Regions from separate parts of the Homo sapiens genome. Here region 1 is linked to region 2. Evidence: promoter capture Hi-C in human tissues and cell types (Jung and others, 2019). All regions are on one chromosome and are shown on one strand. The core of a region is centred on a gene start or on the middle of the fragment in contact, and the rest is flanking DNA. Distances in the headings are between cores, read along the strand shown.

Region 1 (6,158 bases), core at 2,986-5,485, 320 kb before region 2:
AGGCAGATAGCGGTGGGAGCTCCAGGAGAGAATTTCACGTGATTATTTATACTCCTCTTATCTAAATCACCCCACTACCTTCTGGAGGCACCACAGCAGCCTCTCTACTGGTTCCCTGATGCTATCTGCATCTACAATCTGTTTCCTTATTGTAGCCAGAGCGGTTTTTTTTTAACATGATATTTCGTTGTTTAGAACTGTTCCGCAGTTTTTGTTGATGAATAAATTCCAACATATCCTGGCGTTAGAATAGCTTAACACTTAGGAGTGGGGAGTGGGGGGCTTAGAAATCAGAGCATCTGAGCAGATCCCACGTTCACTGAGCTGTGTGAGAAGTCACGTTACTTCTCATTGTTTGCCTCTTCAGTTTGTCTAACTAAAAAAAAAAAAAGAAAAAAAAAACAGGAAAATCACGAATTTCCCAATCCATTTCTTTCTTTTTTTCTTTTCTTTTCTTTTTTTTTTTTGTTTTGTTTTGTTTTGTTTTAAGATGCCCAAGCTGAAGTGCAGTGATGCTTGGTCACCCAGGCTGGAGTGTAGTGGTGCAATCTCAGCTCACGGCTCCAACCTCCGCCTCAGGGGTTCCAGTGATTCTCCTGCCTCAGTCTCCTGAGTAGCCGGGATTTAAAACACCCACCAATACACCCAGCTAATTTTTGTATTTTTAGTAGACACGGGGTTTCACCATGTTCGCCAGGCTGGTCTTGAACTCCTGACCTCAGGTGATCCCCCGCCTCGTTCTCTCAAAGTGCTGGGATAACAGGCAGAGCAACCACGCCCAGCTATTGATACATTTCTTAATACAAGCTCCTGGTTCTGCTGTTTTGATATATTAAATATCCAGCAATAAATTTCTAGGTTCATAAATCTACAAAAATAAAATTAAACCTATTGCTGAAGACAAATTTTGTATTGCAGTTTTATGAGCTTTGATTCCTTCTCCACTTGCAGGTAAATGCTATTTAGTGGCAGGAAGACATTTCGCTTCTGTAAAAGGTATTAGAAACAATATAGCAGTAATAGAATTTATAACTACAAAACTATGCGCTCTTAAGATTGAAAATGCAAGCACATCTCTCCCAAAACATTTGTAATGAATAATGTGTCAACAAAAAGTATACAGTCATTATAGTCAACTCAATTTATACACTAAAGTCTTTTTTTGTTTGTTTTTGGGGGTTTTTTTGAGACGGAGTTTTGCTCTTGTTGCCCAGCCTGGAGTGCAAAGACACAATCTCAGCTCACTGCAACCTCCACCTCCTGGGTTCAAGCGATTCTCCTGCCTCAGCCTCCCAAGTGGCTGGGATTACAGGTGCCTGCAACCAAGCCTGGCTAATTTTTGTTTTTGTTTTTTTTTTAATAGAGACAGGGTTTCACCATGTTAGCCAGGCTGGTCTTGAACTCCTGACCTCAGATGATCCACCTGCCTCAGCCTCCCAAAGTGCTGGGATTACAGGCATGAGCCACCGTGCCCAGCCTAATTTATACACTAAAGTCTTTTATATTTTAATTTTGGCCACTAACTCCATTATGTGACATTCCTGTTTGTTTTGTTTTGTTTATGGTATCAGTAAAAACTCTTAAGTTGTAAGAGGGAAGAAAGTGTAAAAAAAAAAATTCATGAAAAATGTAATTAATTCTCATGAGTGCACAAACTCTGGAGGCTACAATAGAAGTTTTATATGGAAAATCCAATCAATACAGTAATTTTCAAGGTTGGGAGAGGGGATGCTCATGGACAAATGGGCCTCTGACATCTACAGAATTTTTAATTTGGTTCATCTACCTTCAGAAAACCTTTCACAAAAACATGACATTTGCTATAGAAAGATCAAGTAGTTTATTCCCTCACACATACAAAAATAGGAAACTGAGGCTTACAGAAGCTAGATTACTTACCTTGAAAATATATATATACACATATATATATATTTTTTTTGAGCTGGAGTCTCGCTCCGTTTCCCAGGCTGGAATGCAGTGGCAGGATCACGGCTCACCGCAACCTCCGCCTCCCGGGTTCAAGCAATTCTCCTGCCTCAGCCTGCAGAGTAGCTGGGACTACAGGTGCGTGCCACCACACCCAGCTAATTTTTTTGTATTTTTACTAGAGACGGGGTTTTACTATGTTGGCCAGGATGGTCTCGATCTCCTGAACTGGTGATCCACCCGCCTCAGCCTCCCAAAGTGCTGAGATTACAGGTGTGAGCCACTGCGCCCAGCCAATTTTTGTATTTTTTGTAGAGACAGGGTTTCCCTGTGTTGCCCAGGCTGGTGTCTTAGAACTCCTGGACTCTTTAGCCCAGCATGGTGGTACGCACCTGCAGTCCCAGCTACTTGGGAGGCTGAGGCAGGAGAATCACTTGAGCCTGGGAGGCAGAGGCTGCAGTGAGCTGAGATTGCACGACTGCACCCCAGCCTGGGCAACAGAGCAAGACTCCATCTAAAAAAAAAAAAAATCCTGGGTTCAAGTGATCCTCCCACCTCAGCCTCCCATGTCACTGGGACCACAGGCACGCACCACCACACCTGGCTAATTTTTGTATTTTTTGTAGAGACAGGGTTTCTCTATGTTGCCCAGGCTGGTCTCTTAGGACTCTTGGACTCAAGTGATCCTCCCAACTTGGCCTCCCAGTGTACTGTAATTACAGGCATGAGCTACTGCATTATTAATATATAAATGCATCAAACAAATGTATCGGGGATTCCAGTGGATTCTAAGTGGACTTGGACATGTTGGGATGTGCCTGGAACACTAGTGGGCATGGGCCGCCCATCTGCATTTGCAGGAGAACTGAAAAATATCCAGAAGGCAAAACCCTTTAGGAGCTACAAGAAGCAGGCCCTAGAGGAGAGTAAGGCAAGTGAGGCATGCAGGACACAACATTTAAGGAGGCCTCACTCTCAGGAGCTGTCCCTGCACTTTCACGAGCCTGCGAGAGAGGGCTTCCTTAAATTTCCCACTGATTCCTCTTTTGTCTCACCAAGTCACAGCCCTGGTAAGAAGCCAGAAGTGGCTGGGCTTGGTGGCTTATGCCTGTAATCCCAACACTTTGGGAGGCTGAGGCAGGCGGATCACCTGAAGTCAGGAGTTTGAGACCAGCCTGGCCAACATGGTGAAACTCTTGTCTCTACTAAAAATACCAAAATTAGACAGGCATGGCGGTGGGTGCCTGTAATCCCAGCTACTTGGGATGCTGAGGCAGGAGAATCGCTTGAACCTGGGAGGCGGAGGCTGCAGTGAGCCGAGGTCGCACCACTGCACTCCAGCCTAGATGACAGAGCAAGACTCCGTCTCAAAAAAAAAAAAAAAAAAAAAAAAAAGAAGCCAGATGTGTCCAGCTTGTTCCAGTGGTCAGAATTGGGCACAGAGTTTTATCATAAGAACGTGTTGCAGCTACTAATAGGAGTAAAAAGAAAGAATTTACTACAATGATGTAGCAGACATTTGTAATGCAATGTGAATATTTTGTTGTACAGATGGGGGTGGGGTGTCTTGCTGTGTTGCCCAGGCTAGTCTCAAATGCCTGACCTCAAGTGATCCTCTCAACTCAGCCTCCCAAAGTGCCAGGACTACAGGTGTGAGCAAATTGCTGAGTCTTGATGAGGGTAAGGGTCATGTTCCAGGGTCAAAGTCCAGCTGAGAGTCATCGTGAGGATCAGAGTGGGGGTCAGTGTCAGAGTGAGGATAAGGAGTGTGAGGCAAACATTCAAAGCCTGGGTCAGGGCGAGGGTCAGAGTCAGTTTCAGGGTCAGAGTTCATCACAGAGTGAGAAAGACTTAGTGCCAGGGTCAGGCTGAGTGTGTAGTTCAGGCTCAGCATAAGTTTCAGATTCACAGCAGGTTCAAGGACATGGTGAAGGTATGGATAAGGGTCCTTATAGAGTCAGGGTGAGGTCAGGATCAAGGAGACCATAAGGGTCAAGTCAGGGTCAGTGGAAAGTAAGCAGCAGAGTCAGGGTCAGGTAAGGGTCAGATTTATGGTCATGATGAGGGTTATGGTGACATTAAGATTTCCAGGCCAGGGGAGGGTCAAGTTGAGTGCCACTGTAGGGTTAGCTTCAATGTTCGGTTGGGATTAAGGGTGATGCTAAAACTGAAGGCAAAAGTGAGGGTCCGGGTCAAGTACAGAATCAGGGTCAGGGTGAGAACGAGATAGAGTGTGTAAGTGACAGTCAGGATCAGGGTCTGGTGAGTGTCACAGTCAGATGCAAGGTGAGAGTGAGCACCAGGGTAAGGCTCAGGTGTGAAGGAGGGGGTGGTGTCAGAACGAGAGCAAGGTCAGAGTCAAGGTGAGAGTGTATGCTTCAGGGTCAAGAGTCATGGTTAAAGGCCAGGTGCAGTGGCTCACACCTGTAGTCCCAGTGCTTTGGGAGGCTAAGGTGGGAGGCTTGCTTGAGGCCAGGGGTTCAAGACCAGCATGGACAACATAGTGAGACCCCATCTCTACAAAAAATACAAAAAAAAATAGCCAGGCATAGTGGCATGCACCTGTGGTCCCAGCTACTCAGGAAGCTGAGGTAGGAGGATCGCTTGAGCTCTGGAGGTCAAAGTTGCTGTGAGCCATGCTGGCACCACTGCACTACAGCCTGGGTGACAGAGCAAGACCCTGCCTCTTTAAAAAAAAAAAAAGTCATAATTATGATCACTGTCTAGGTCAAGTTGAGGATCAAGGGTCAGGGTCATAGTGAGGGTCAGAGTCAACATCATGCTAAGGGAAGGGTCAGTGAAGGTCAATTTCAGGGTAAGGGTCAGGGTAGGATTCAGGTTGAGGGTCAGAGACAGGGTGAAAATTAGGATCAGGTAAAGTTTAGGGTCCAATTCAGCATCAGGATCAGTATAAGAATGAGAATGAGAGGCAATGTCAGTGTGAGAGTCAGGGTCATTGTGAGGGCAAGGTGTCCATTATGATCAGGGGCAAGATGAAGCTAGAGGTGAGGCTCAAGTTCAGGGTCAGCTCTAGGTCAGGTTCAATATGAGGGTGAGGATAAGGGCAGGGTTATGGCTATAATGTTTTACCATTTATTTACAATCTTATTTCTAGTATTAATTCAGATACTGCTAAGCAAAAGAAGGTTATTCTTACTAATTCTAATTTATTTTCCTTCAGGAACAGTAATGGATTTGGGGCACTCTCTGCTTTAGTTATTTTATTTTTATTATTATGAACCATCAGGTTCATATCACCGTCTCTGAAAAATCAAAATATCCCCAATTTTACTTCTTGTAGATTTATAACCAGTCACTTCGTTGATAGTAATATGAGAGCAGAAAGTGCAGGTAACAGATTTTTCTGTCTTAAAAATATTTTTTGCAGCTTCTCAATTGCACAAGCTTATGGAATGGTCGGAATGGAGTTTCAATGTTGAACTTCCCAGTGAGAATCTTTTCTACCTTACACCTGTAATTGGTCATTTTCCTTTGAGCACCTGAGAAGTGCTTAGCTCAGCAGCTCCCATAGCTGGATAGTTATAAAGGTATGGAAAATTCCTCTTCATGAATTGAGCCAAAGCGGCTTCTAACATTCTTTTCAGCTAAGCTGAAAGACAAATACAGTGGTCCCTCCGTATCTGTGGGTTCCGCATCTGTGGATTCAACCAACCAAGGATGGAAAATATTTGGGGAGAAAAATGGATGGTTGCCTCTGTACTGAACATGTACAGGCTTTTTTTCTTGTCGTTACTCCCTAAATAATACAGTGTAACAACTATTTGCACAGCATTGACGTTGTAGTCGGTATTGTAAGTAATCTAGCCATGATGTGAAGTCCACGAAGAGATGTGCGTGGGTTACATGCAAACATTTCGCCATTCTGCATAAGGCACCGGAGCGTTGTGCTGTGCGCTCTCCTAGCGTCCCCCACTCACTTTCCTCCACCCACACACACCAGGCCAGGTCTCTCTTGCAAAGGTGAGGCTGCCGACTACTGTCCCGCCTGAGCGGGCTCTGGTCCTCACTCACAGACTGAGATTTCCTGAGAGGTGCCGTGGAGAAGGCCCCAGACTCTGCCTGGACCACCGACCCCAACCCAGAGGAGCTCGCCGCCTGCTTCCCTGGGAGGCGCCACTCTCCCAAGCTGGATCTAGGGCCGACCACACCCCAGGGTTGGAAGCACCGCTGGGGACACTGAGCGGGTTCCCTTTCCACCCTGATCCAGGCTG
Region 2 (6,595 bases), core at 1,280-3,779:
CCTGGGGTCCTCCCTCAGACCTCCGGCCAGCCCCTCCCGGGGGCGAAGGGCTGGGCTGCCGCGAACCCTGGTGGGCTGCATCTCGCCCCACTGCCCCCTTCCAGGCTCCTGGGCTGCCTGGGCCCTGTTCCGTTTCATGGGTTCTGTGCTTTCTTCGCAGATAAAGACGGGCAAGGTTGGGCGAGGTTGGGTTTTTTTTGTTTGTTTGTTTTTTGTTTTTTTTTTAGCGGCAGCAAGATTTATTGCAAAGAGCAAAAGAACAAAGCTTCCACAGCATGGAAGGGGATCCGAGCGGGTTGCCCTGAGGTTGGGGTCTTAAGCACAGGTGTGCTGGGATGGGAGGGGTCCCGGGAGGAGGCTCCTGCCCTGAGCTAGGAGACCACCAGCTAGGACTGGGCTGAACTGGGCCAGGCAGGACTGAGAGGCTGGGTCCCTGGGAAGTCTGGGGGCCTCGAATACCAACGAAAGGACGGTGGTCTACCCCTTCTAGGAGGCGGGTCAAGGCAAAAGGAGTAATGCAACGCCTGTGAAGCCAGCCCCACGCGCGCACCAGTCGCGTAAGACAACAGCAGTGTCTCCACCTCGGGGACCAAGGACGCCTCCGTGCCTCCAGACCCCGCCTCCTCCAGCCCCTGCACCTGTCATTTATTCTTCCACTGCCCAATAAATATTCATGGCAGACTTTACTGGGGCTGCGCGCACACGTGCCCGCCGGTAGCTATACGTGTGTGCTTTTGCCACACGGATGACACGCACCAGCCAGTGTGCGTTCGTCTCTATTTGCCTCTGTCTGGGTGTCTCTGCTGGGTACTTCGGGACGCGCACAACTGCGTGTGGGCTCCCAAGGCTTTCGGGACTTCCAGCTCCACCCAGAAAAACATCCTGGACGGGGCTCTCGGTGCCACCCTGGGCCCGCACACATAAGTGCAGATCCCGGCTGCCTAGCCCTTACAGTCTCCCTTCTGGTGAGGCCCCGCCTGGGGACCGTCAGGCCAGCCCAAGTTCCGCAGCTTCAGGGGTGCGTGGGCCTCCGCTGAGCACAAGGGGACAACCCTGCCCCGGCCGCCTGGCTCGGTCCCGAACGCCGCGCCTCCAGTCCAAAGTGGGCCAGCGCCGAGCAGGGAGCCAGCCCGAACGGCCCACCGGGTGCAGGAATGCGAGCGTGGGCCGCAGGGGCTGGTCAGTCCCTGCTCCGCCTGGCTCCGCCCGGCCCATCAGACCCGCCCTGGGGCTCCGCCCGCCCATCTCCAGTTTCCTCTAGGGACTAAGGCCGGGAAACCTACGTTTGCTCAGCGCCCTTATCGCCAGGCTCCATCCCTGCGCGGCTTTCCTCTGCCAGCCCCGCCTTAAGCTCCTCAGACCCTCTTTCCTGGCTGCTTCGCCCCGCCCCCGCCCCCCGCAACTCCAGGAGCTCGTGAGCCTCTCTAGAGACTCAGAATCCAAATCACTGCAGCGACCTCCCCATCGGCCCCGTGCCACCGAACAGCCCCTCCGACCACGATGCGCGCGGATCCCGCACCTTGAGGCGTGCGTGGGCCTCGGCGGCAGGCAGGAGGCGATGACCGCGGTGCGAGCCGAGTGAGGCGCACACTCCGCACACCAGCGCGCGGTCCTGCTCGCAGTAGATGCTCAGCGGGTCCAGGTGCTCCTCGCAGTGGCCCTGCGGCACCTGGGCCAGCCCCTCCACCAGGCGCGCCAGCTGCAGGTTGGTGCTGAGTGCCTGCGGCCGCGTGGGGGCCTGGCAGCAGGGGCAGAGAACGGTGCCATCCGCCGCCGGCTCCCCGGCCACGCGGCCTAGGCAGGCGCGGCAGAAACTGTGGCCGCACTCGGCTGTCACGGGCGCGTCGAACAGCTGCAGGCACAGCGGGCAGGACAGCTCCTGGTGCAGGAGGCCGGGCGCAGCCGACATGGCGGGCCTGGGTGGAGGAGGAGTAGGTTAGGGGGACCCCGCGGCGCCGCGCTCCCGGCCCAGCCCTGGCCCAGCCCTAGCCCAGGCCGGGCCCGCCGCCCCGCAGGGAGAAGCCCCAGCCTGTAAAGACCTCACATCCTACACTGGATGGGACTCTGACGGCCAAGGGGAAAGAGGAACTCGGTCTCAGGCCCAAAAGCAGCCTCCACTGCAATTCTCAGCTCCAACCCCAAAAATATGCCCTATCAGTCAACCCCAGTTCCTGAACACAAGCCCAGATTCTAGCCCACTGTCCTTGCCCTCGCCTTAGCCCCAGGCCTCAGCCTCTGACCTTAGTCCCGGACCCAAATTCTCCAGAGCCCCCACTCCGAGACTCCCCTCCCTCACTTTACCAAGATACCCAGACCTCCCCTCCCCCTCTCTCCAGCCCACGGGACTCACAGGTCTGGTTGGAGATCTTAGGCTGAAAGAGTCTCGAAGGAGGACCGGTCAGGGTTGAGCTTAGCTGGACTGGGGTCAGGGCTGGGTCCAAGGATCTGAGACAAGCAGCAGGCTCCAAGCAAGGACAGGGACTCACAGGGGCAGCTGGCAGTGGACACCACGCGTGATGGGCACACAGTGCTCAGCGGAAGACCCTCCCAGACTGAGCCATGGCCCCAGGACTATATTTAGCTGCCCTGCCCAATCCCTCCCATCACTTCCGGAAACCGTTCTAAAAGTGAGGGCTGAGTAGTCCCTGGGCACACATCACATGACAGGGCCACCTGTCTTGGCCCATCCACTGTTCTCTCCCCGGCCTGCCTGGAGTCAGAGCTCAGAGCCAGCGGGGAGCCAGGGCCTTTCACACCACAGAAAAGACAGAAAATTGAAGGGGGTCTGCCCTTTCTCCCCCCACTCCCACCTCCACACTCTCCAGCTCCTTCCTCCTTGCTGGCAGCCCCTCCCCAGCCTGTCACCCACTCATTCCCCAAGTTTATGGCTGACCAAGGTCACCCTGGCAGGATTACCCCACCTGCAGGAGGGCAGGACCTCACCCCACCCTGAAATGTTTTCTTCCTCCAGAGCTGAGGGGAGGGTCTTTTCCACTTTGGTCTCTCTAGTACACCCAGGACAAGCCTGGGACAAAGTAGGCCTCTCTAAATGCTTGGAGAATGAATGATAGAGAGACATTGAACAAATGAATGAACTGAATCCAGAGCCTGCAGCCCAGAACTCAATTCTGCCCTGGTTCCTGTATGTGTATCTTTCAAATCTCAGCTGAAATTTCATTTAAGTGGCGCTGGGATAACTGGCTAGCCTTATGCAAGAGAATGAAACTGGACCCCTACCTTTCACCATATAAAAAAAATTAACTCAAGATGGGTTAAAGATTTAAATGTAAGACTTCAAACCATAAAAATCATAGAAGAAACCGCAGGAGAAATACTATTCTGGATATCAGCCTTGGTAAAGAATTCTTGACTAAGTCCTCAAAAGCAACAAAAACAAAAATTGTTAAGTGGGACCTCATTAAACTAAAGAGCTTCTGCACAGCAAAAGCAAAAGCAACTATCAACAGACAGACAACTGAAGAATGGAAGAAAGGCCAGGCGCGGTGGCTCACGCCTGTAATCCCAGCACTCTTGGGAGGCCAAGGCGGGTGGATCATGAGGTCAGGAGATCGAGACCACAGTGAAACCCCGTCTCTACTAAAAATACAAAAAATTAGCCGGGCGCAGTGGCGGGCACCTGTAATCCCAGCTACTCAGGAGGCTGAGGCAGGAGAATGGTGTGAACCCGGGAGACGGAGCTTGCAGTGAGCCGAGATCGCGCCACTGCACTCCAGCCTGGGGTACAGAGTGAGACTCCGTCTCAAAAAAAAAGAATGGAAGAAAATATTCACAAACTATGCATCCAACAAAGATCTACTATCCAGAATATATAAAGAAACTAAACATTTCAACAAGCAGAAAACAACCCCATTAAAAAGTTGGCAAGGGCCAGGCACAATGGCTCACACCTGTAATCCCAGCACTTTGGGGGGCCCAGGCGGGTGGATCACTTGAGGTCAGGAGTTTGAGACCAGCCTGGCCAACATGGTTAAACTTCGTCTCTATGAAACATACAAAACTCAGCCGGGTGTGGTGGCAGGTACCTGTAATCCCAGCTACTTGGGAGGCTGAGGCAGGAGAATCGCTTGAACCCGGGAGGCAGAGGTTGCAGTGAACCGAGATCGCACCACTGGACTCCAGCCTGGGTGACAAGAGCGAAACTCCAACTCAAAAAAAATAGCTGGGCATGGTGAAGAACACCTGTAGTCCCAGCTGCTCGGGAGGCTGAGATGGGAGGATTGCTTGAACCTGGGAAGCAGAGGTTGCAGTGAGCCAAGATCATGCCATTGCACTCCAGCATGGGCAACAAGAGCAAAACTCCGTCTCAAAAAAAACAATAAATATTAAAAAAAAGAAAAGAAAGAAATTTCATCTAGAATAAAAACCAAAGTGCTAACTGTGGCTTACAAAGCCCTATCTGCTATGACCCCATTAATCACTCTGACTCTTTTATCACCCCTTTCCCCATTGATCACTCGGCATCAGGGACTTTGCACTTACGGTCCCCTCTGCCTGGAACACTCTCCAACCCAGGTACTGCATGGCATCCTCTTTTTCCTCCCTCAGACTTTGCTCAATATTACCTTTCCAGCAAGACCTCTCCCAATTCCCTGATTTTAAATCTCCTAACTCCCCAACATCTCACTGCCTGGCTTTCCTTTTCTCCATAACATTTATCAGCATCTGACATGCAATGTATTCTACTTGTTTGCTGGTTTCTTGTCTGTCTCTTCCTACGGAATAGAAATTGTGTTTACTGCTTGTCTCCAGCTTAGACTAAAGTGTGTGACACACATTAGGCGCTCTACAGATACTAGGTGAATGAATAAACACGCAAACTCAGTCCCTCTCATTTGGCCTCTCCATCTTTCTCTTAGCTTCCCTCAAACCTTTTCCTGGTTTTACTCTTTCCTCTCTCAACTGCTGTCTCTCTCAGAATGAATTTTTGTTTCTGTTTCACTCTCTTAATCTCCCCTTTGGACTCTCCCTTTGCCTGTCTCTTAGGTTCTTAATTTTTTCTTTTTCTTTTTTTTTTTTTTTTTGAAATGGAGTCTTGCTCTGTCGCCCAGGCTGGAGTGCAGTGGTACAATCTCGGCTTACTGCAACCTCCACTTCCCAGGTTCAAGCGATTCTCCTGCCTCAGCCTCCCGAGTAGCTGGGATTATAGGCACGTGCCACCACGCCCAGCTAATTTTTGTATTTTTAGTAGAGACGGGGTTTCACCATGTTGTCCAGGCTGGTCTCGAACTCCTGACCTCAGGTGATCCACCCGCCTCGGCCTCCCAAAGTGCTGGGATTCCAGGCATGAGCCACCACACCCGACCGCTCATTCCTTCTTGCATGTTATGTGGTGACAGCATGAACTTCTGCTGGCCTGCTTAAGAAGGTAGCTACTTCAGGCTGCCTGACACCTTGTTTAACCTAGGCCCTCGTTCAGGCTGTAAACATTTGGTTCTTTTAGGAGGAAAAAAAGTTCTATTATTCTTTTGGATAAGAGCAATTACCTGTATAAATGACTGCAGATAAAATTCTGAAATTAAGATGTGAAAAGTCTCAGGAAGCTGGTGCTCTTTTTTTTTTCTTTTCCTTTTTTTTTTTTTGTTTTTTTGTTTTTTTGTTTTTTTGAGACGGAGTGTCGCTTTGTCGCCCAGGCTGGAATGCAGTGATGAGATCTCGGCTCACTGCAAGCTCCGCCCTCCTGGGTTCACGCCATTCTCCTGCCTCAGCCTCCCGAGTAGCTGGGACTACAGGCGCCTGCCACCACGCCTGGCTAATTTTTTGTATTTTTAGTAGAGACAGGGTTTCACCATGTTGGCCAGGATGGTCTCGATCTCCTGACCTCGTGATCCGCCTGCCTCGGCCTCCCAAAGTGCTGGGATTACAGGCATGAGCCACTGCGCCCGGCCAAAGCTGGCGCTCTTTACCGGCACACTGAGAAATCCAGGGGAGTTTTGTGTCCCCACCTTCTTTGTCCTTAAGTCTCTGAGGTCTCACTGTGTCGCCCAGGCTGGAGTGCAATGTTATAATCATAGCTCACTACAGCCTCGACCTCCCAGGCTAAAGTGATCCTCCCACCTCAGCCTCCTGAGTAACGGGGACCGCAGGTGTTCACCACCATGCCTGGCTAAAAGCCCCTGATTTCTTCTCTTCCATTCTTGATGGCTCAGACGCAGCCTTGTGTTAGCAATAGGAAGAGGTTTGAAAGAGGGTATATCTGGAGCTGGTCTCTGAAACCACAAGTTGCTCATGCTCAAAAACTCAACTTCCAGAACTTAAATCTCATCCAGAGTTTCCAATATTGCCAAGTTGGGACTGAAGGTCCTGCTGTCATCTATAGGAGTGGGTGTCTAAGACAGGTGGGTGATAGTCAATTCAATCCTTCCCTGCAGATGGGCCAGGACTGGCCTCTGATCCACGGAAGGAACATTGATTGTCTTAAGCAGACTGAGAACAAGAAGAGGCAATAAGCCATGTGCAGGGAAGGAGGGAGTGGTAAACCGGTATAGCTGGCCCTATGAGGTCCCTCAGACCTAAAGAGCTAGGGATAGATTTCAGCTTGTCCTAAGGGAAAGTTTCCCAACAGCTCAAGCAATGA

What was found. The method cuts DNA at HindIII sites, captures the fragments that hold promoters and counts their contacts. A contact is called where the count stands out against the background at its distance.
Region 1: a fragment that was not itself captured here is called in contact with the fragment with the promoter of TRIM72 in region 2 in 1 of the 25 tissues and cell types used here (dorsolateral prefrontal cortex).

The regions. Positions count from the first base shown.
Region 1 is chr16:31,529,860-31,536,017 of GRCh38, reverse strand. No RefSeq gene overlaps it. Among named protein-coding and RNA genes, the nearest start is that of AHSP, 5.0 kb to the right of the region's middle. The HindIII fragment of the contact is 6,447 bases long and covers 1,012-6,158 here.
Region 2 is chr16:31,210,053-31,216,647 of GRCh38, reverse strand. TRIM72 (tripartite motif containing 72) reads right to left here and starts at 2,529. Exons shown (of 7, transcript NM_001008274.4): 1 at 2,351-2,529; 2 at 1,520-1,916. The coding sequence starts at 1,909. It overlaps PYDC1 (pyrin domain containing 1), which reads left to right. Exons shown (of 2, transcript NM_152901.4): 2 at 491-686. RefSeq lists enhancers at 1-292, 1,208-2,122, 2,123-3,038. The HindIII fragment of the contact is 10,428 bases long and covers 1-6,485 here.